Regions from separate parts of the Homo sapiens genome. Here region 2 is linked to region 1. The links are contacts of gene promoters, found by promoter capture Hi-C in human tissues and cell types (Jung and others, 2019). All regions are on one chromosome and are shown on one strand. Each heading gives the region's core, a stretch centred on a gene start or on the middle of the fragment in contact. The rest is flanking DNA. Distances are from core to core; before and after follow the strand shown.

Region 1 (3,269 bases), core at 442-2,941:
ATTACTATAAAAGTGATCAGGAAAACTGCAAAGGCTGATCATCGTGGCAATTGTGAGTGGAAGTGGTTAACTAAAACCATCCACTGACAATTCCAAAATCACCTTCACTAGTGATTTCACCTGCACTCCAATTGTGACCGTTCTAGAAAAGGTGATTATGCGTTCAAACTTTATTATTTTTAACTTATGAAGATGCAAAATTACATCTTCACTACTGAAGTCATAATGAGCAAAGAAATACTTTCTCATAGGAAGAAAAAGAAGGTGGATAAGGATAAGCCACAAAACAGGGAAGGTGGTACTGAATTCAGAGTTTATGAGATTTCCAAGAAGAATTAAACATATTTCCCACAGACTTGTGAATAAATTTCCAGAAATACACAGTACTTCTTAGCAAACGTTGGGTAGCTTAGCTTCGGCTTGATAAACTGCACTTATACGGAAACAAACGCACAATCGCTCTGGTGCAAAAGTAAAAACTGTGATTGGAGTCTGTATTTAAACGTAAGATTCCTCTCTAGCTCTCTCTGAAGAAGTTATTTTCTCTAGCACGTGGTAGAATTCATTCCATTAACCTTTGTAAAGTGCTTAATCCCGTGTCACGCACTGTACTAGGGTCTAGCGAGTGACAGATGTCACGGTACAGAGATCTCAGTGGGTCGCTGCCCTCCAGGAGCTTATAAAGAAAATTTTCCTTCTGCAGTTTTCAGCCGGCTACACCCAGTCCCCTGCAAGTAATTTTCAGTGAAAAAAACCCGCATCTTTTTCCTAGTCCTTGCAAATATTCTGGCTTTCCGAGATCTCTTCGCCTTGAATACCGAAGTCACTCCGGGATCTCTCTCTGGACGTTTGGCAGTTATTCCAGATGTAGCCGAATGACCGGCTTGCCCTTTCCCTGCGGAGTGACAGGAAGACAGCGACCCCGGAAAGTTTCCAGCACTTAAAACGCAAAGCGCAGCCTGAACCCACAAGGAGCCGACAACTCTTGCGGCTTCCACCACCCTTCTATCGCGGAGCCTAAGGAAGCTAAAGCAGTCGGGTCAGACCCGGCCACCGGGCAGCGCATGGTTCCGGGCGCAGGGAGCGACAGACTCAGCCCCCCAGCGGCGCGGCGCAGAGAAGTTGCAGGCCAGCCTGCATACCCAAGTGCGGGGGGGAAGAAAAACAAACAAACAAAAAAAATCCTTTCTTCTGGACTACAATGACCGGCAAGCAACGCGCCACGGCGCCAAGTTCAGCTTCGGGATCCTGGCGAAATGGAGCCTGGGAAGTGAAGTCTCCGGACTGTCGGAGTCCCGTAGTGAAGGCAGAAAGTAGGCGTTGCTAGTCCGCTCCACTAGCACGCCGGTTCCTGGCTGGGCTCCGGGTCTCTCGCTCCCGCTCAGGGTTTTCGCGGGCGGCGGGAGCGGTATGGCTCGCCTGAGTAAACTCCAGCGGGAGGGGGAGGAGGGTAGTGGGTGGGGAGGCGGGGTCAGCGGAAGCGGCAGGTTGCTTCCTTCTCCTCTGGCTCCCTCCCCGCCTCTCCCTGAGGGAGCGGTGGGAGGGGGAGGGCAGGGCAGAGGGAAGGTAGTGACACGTGTCAATCAACCCCCCTCCGGGGGGCGCGCGCTCCGGGGCTCGCGCCGAGGGCTCGCGCCCCTGCCTCGTGCCTGCGCTGCTCGTATGTAAATGAGGGCGCGTGACGCGGGACGCAGATGGACAAGGGAAGAGAGAGAATGGCCGCTGCCGCCGCCGCTGCTGCCGCCGCCGCCGCCGCCGCTCAGTGCCGGAGCCCTCGGTGCGCGGCGGAGAGAAGAGGATTCCGGCGGGAACTCGACTCTTGGCGCCACCGCCTCATGCACTGTGTAGGTAAGAGAGACGCGGGCCGGGGCCCCGGGCTCCGCGCGGCGACCGCTGTCGCAGCCCGAGGAGTTTGTGGCTGAGGGGTTTAGTTGAATCTCCCGTTCGGGTTAGTTCGGTGGGGGAGCGAGATGGGAGCGGCGCGGCGCGGCGGCCCCGGCGCTCGCCTTTTGTCTTGCGGGCTGCTGGCCCGGCGCGGTCCGCGCTCCTTCGCCTTCCCAGCTCTTGGGCTCCCCGGGAACTGTTAGTTTGGACCCGCTTGCTGAGCCCCCGCGGAAGCCGCCCGCTCGCTCTCTCCCCGAAACTCCTCGGCGCCCGTCGCTGCCCGCCGTCGCCCGCCGTCCACCCTGACAGGACGGAGGAAGCGGCCCGGTGGGTCGGCGCCCTGGCGGAGGAGAGCCGGCGGGCAGGGCGGCCGGAGGAAGGCGGGCTGGTCCGCGCCCCCGCCGAGCGCACACACACCCCCTTGTCGCCGCCGGGGGCCGGGTGAGCAGACGCGGCCAGTTCCCGGGGACCTGGACCTGGAGACCCACGGGCACTCGCAGGGCGGGGGCCGCTGATGGGCCGGCTGGGGGCGAGGGGCGGCGGGGGCGTCGTCCGAGGGGCGGGGGGCGCCCAACTCTGCCCTCTCGCGCTCGGCGGCGGCGCTGTGTGTACCCCTTTAAGAAGGAGCCGCTTGAGCGCTGACGGTTGGGATTTGAAGTTCTTCCTCCCTCTTTGGAAGTCTGGACGGATGGGGGGTGTTGCCACGGCAACGACACCCTCCCCCCCGTCTGCTTGCGGACGCCCCGACGACTCTGGTCCTCTTTCACTGTCATGTGATGGACTCTTCCTTACACACACACACACATATACACGCATACGCATCGCCCTCCCCACCTCCCATCCCCATTCAACTGCAATTCCCTCTTTTTGGTTGGATCTGAATCGTTTTGCCTCAAACTTCTGGGCTTGGGGCTCTCACCCTGTGGATTGTTTAGGGTGACAGGAATGGTGGGACTCCCGACCTTGCTGCAGTCGCTTTTTTTTTTTTCTTTTTTTGCCTAAGACGAATGCATAGAGCTGTTATCCAGCAGGTTGGTTTAGTGGGCTTAGAGGGGCGAACACGGATTATGGAATGGGGCGCGTTGTGGGTGTTTGTTTTGGAAGGGGGTTATGGGTGGGAGTGTAGGGGAAGAGGTAGAAAGGAAGGTTGTATTGTGTAAGCAGTGGATAGTGGCAGCAGCTTGCTCTACTGGCGAGTGAATCTTGGCATTTGGAGTTGGGGAGTAACCCTAGTGTCTTAAGAAAACAACTCTCTTACCTTGTTTCCATCTGCTCTGGCACCACCTCGCACCCCCGACCCCGCCTCCCATGTATTTGGTTAACGTCTTAAGATCTTTTTTTGACTAGTAGAGAAGAGATCGTATTAGGTTAAACTTAATACAATT
Region 2 (3,269 bases), core at 408-2,907, 200 kb before region 1:
AAATGTTTGTTTCTCTGCATTTCTTACTATATTCTTAGTGCTATGAGGGCCAAAACCTCATCATATTGACCAGGTATTCCCACATTCAAGAACAGAGTCTGGCAGTTAAGCACTTAATGTCCAAATGAATCAGTGTATGGAAGAAACAGATAAATGAGCACAGGGCAGGGACAGAGTAGGAATGAAATAAGAGGGTCCACGTTGGTGGACATAAGAGTATTAACATAATGGTGCACTGTGCCTGGCTTCTTGGCACGTGTTTGCTGTTGGCGGTATCAATTGTGGATGGACAGGTGAGACCTAAGGCTTCAGGATCAGGTTGGTAACTTTGCTGCCAATACTATGGGCATACTGTTTTTTTTTCTGCCCACTCTATCACTTCCCCATGCTCTACTATACACTGCCCTTTTTCTTGATCCTTAATTTCTTATGAGCAACTCTACTATTGTCCATTGAGGGCACAGTTGTTTCTCACTTCAAAGACACTGCAATACCCTGTCTCAGGATAATGTCTCTTTATAAACTTGGACTTTTTTGTATTGTATTTTACCAAATTCTGCACATACTTCTCTACTTAATATTATAAATATATATTTTTCTGGCCTGAATTTTAAAGCTAGTTTTTTAAATTTTAAAAATAAAATCTTAAATGCTGCTTAAATGTTATTGGATGTGGAATGTTTTACCTTCATGAAGGGGCTGCAGGGTCTTTTTCCCAGTATATATTTCAGCATGTCATGGATGCTCAAGTCTCTGGGAAAACCTAGAGTCTTGCTTATAGAATGTGGTCCAAACTAGGCAATTACTTGATGTCTCTCTCTTCCTAAAAATGTATGAAACCAAGAAAAGGGAATTATTATTTTTTTAACCATAGGTGAGTCTCTAACGAATGTGCACAGTAGATTTGAAAGATTAACCTGTATGAAAGTTCAAAACCAACTAATGGTAACTGATTAGATACTATATAAACGGCAGGGAGAAAAACAAATGCTTAAGGGTAGATTTTATGTAATTTATGTAGCTTTGATTATTTGTATTTTAGCTTTCTTTAAATAACTCACCAAGAACTGTTGAAAACACCCTCTCTTTCTCATAGAGAAAATATATTTCTTAGTTTGTGGAAGGACTTGCTAGCTCTCTAACATATTGTAGGTGACATTTTGTGTGACAGCAAAAATATGTGAAAATTGTATTATGTAAATGATATTTTATAAATTAACTGCAATTAAAAATGATAGTCTCTCAGATGTTATTTTACTTTTATAGGATAACATCAGTGACTATCATATTAGCAACTAAAAATGCAGCCAGGCATGGTTAATCCCAGCACTTTGGGAGGCCAGGGTGGGCAGATTGCTTGAGGCCAGGAGTTCGAGATCAGCCTGGGCAACATGGTAAAATCCCATCTCTACTAAAAATGCAAAAATTAGCTGGGCATGGTGGCATATGCCTGTAATCCCAGCTATTCAGGAGGCTGAGGCACAAGAATCGCTTGAACCAAGGAGGCAGAGGTTGCAGTGAGCTGAGATTGTGCCACTGCACTCCATCCTAGGTGACAGAGCAAGACTCTGTCTCAAACAAAACAAAACAAAACACACAAAAGAATTAAAATGCAATACTTTGGGCTGAGCAATGAGTTTAATTTATTTGGCCTTTGTTTATCTTTGAATAAACAGAGGCTAATGATGAGGTTAATTTTTTGGGCCTTTGTTTGTCTTTGTCTTTGAAACACAAAGACAACTGAGGCATAGCCCATGTGCTCAAAGAGCTTTCAAATCAAGTACAGGAGAGAAGAGAAATAACCAGACAGAACATGATCAGCCACATTAGGAAAGGCATCAGGTTGTAAGCAAGTTCAGAGCCCTGACAGACCCTTTATGTTTGGGAGCATATACGAAGTCTTCTTGGAGATGGTGGCCTTGAAACTAGGTCACAAAATATGAGTAGGACTTGGGAGAACTCTTCCAAGATGGCCAAATAGGAACAGGTCCAGTCTGCAGCTCCCAGCAAGACTGACGCAGAAGATGGGTGATTTCTGCATTTCCAACTGAGGTACCTGGTTCATCTCAATGGGACTGGTTGGACAGTTGGTGTGGCCCATGGAGGGCAAGCCAAAGCAGGGTGGGGCATCACCTCACCTGGGAAGCACAAGGAGCTGGGGGATTTCCCTTTCCTAGCCAAGGGAAGCCATGAGAGACTGTACCAGGAAGAAGGATACACTCCTGCCTCAATACTGCATTTTTCCCACATTCTTTACAACCTGCAGACCAGGAGATTCTCTCCTGTGCCTGGCTCAGTGCGTCCCACACCCACAGAGCCGAGCAAGCTAAGATCCATTGGCTTGAAATTCTTGCTGCTAGTGCAGCAGTCTGAGATTGACCTGGGACACTGGAGCTTGGAGCGGGGAGGGGTGTCCACCATTGCTGAGGCTTGAGTAGGTGGTTTTATGCTCACAGTGTAAACAAAGCTGCTGGAAAGCTTGAAATGGGCAGAGCCCACCGCACCCCAGCAAGGCCAACTGCCTCTCTAGATTCCACATCTGTGGGCAGGGCATATCTGAAAAAAAGGCAGCAGCCCAAGTCAAGGACTTATAGAGAAACCCTCGTCTCCCTGGGACAGAGCACTTAGGGGAAGGGGCAGCTCTGGGCACAACTTCTCCAGACATAAACATCCCTGCCTGTCAGCTCTGAAGAGAGCAGTGGTTCTCCCAGCATGGGAGAAAGACACCTCATACAGGAGAGCTATGGGTGGCATCTGGCAGGTGCCCCTCTGGAACGAAGCTTCCAGAGGAATGATCAGGCAGCAATACTTGCTGTTGTGCAGACTCTGATGGTGATACCCAGGCAAACAGGGCCTGGAGTGGACCTCCAGCAAAGTCCAACAGACCTGCAGCTGAGGGGCCTGAGTGTTAGAAGGAAAACTAACGAACAGAAAGGAATAGCATCAACATCAACAAAAAGGACATCCACATCAAAACCCCATTGGTAGGTCACCAACATTAAAGAACAAAGGTAGATAAAACCACAAAGACAGGGAGAAACCAGAGTAGAAAGGCTGAAAATTCCAAAAACCAGAACGCCTCTTCTCCTCCAAAGGATCACAACTCCTCGCCAGCAAGGGAACAAAACTGGATGGAGAATGAGTTTGATGAGTTGACAGAAGTAGGCTTCAGAAGGTGAGTAATAACAAACTTCTCTGAGCTAAAGGAGCATGTTCTAACCCATTGCAAGGAAGCTAAAAACCTTGAAAAAAAGTTAGACAAATGGCTA

Evidence for each region. The method cuts DNA at HindIII sites, captures the fragments that hold promoters and counts their contacts. A contact is called where the count stands out against the background at its distance.
Region 2: a fragment that was not itself captured here is called in contact with the fragment with the promoter of LCORL in region 1 in 1 of the 25 tissues and cell types used here (dorsolateral prefrontal cortex).

Annotation. Positions count from the first base shown.
Region 1 is chr4:18,020,177-18,023,445 of GRCh38, reverse strand. It overlaps LCORL (ligand dependent nuclear receptor corepressor like), which reads left to right and starts at 1,691. Exons shown (of 8, transcript NM_001394446.1): 1 at 1,691-1,848. The coding sequence starts at 1,695. RefSeq lists an enhancer at 1,060-1,319 and silencers at 1,370-1,829, 2,150-2,479. The HindIII fragment of the contact is 18,207 bases long and covers 1-3,269 here.
Region 2 is chr4:18,224,198-18,227,466 of GRCh38, reverse strand. LOC107986262 (a long non-coding RNA gene) reads right to left here. Exons shown (of 3, transcript XR_001741598.1): 3 at 702-823. Among named protein-coding and RNA genes, the nearest start is that of LCORL, 200 kb to the right of the region's middle. The HindIII fragment of the contact is 5,253 bases long and covers 1-3,269 here.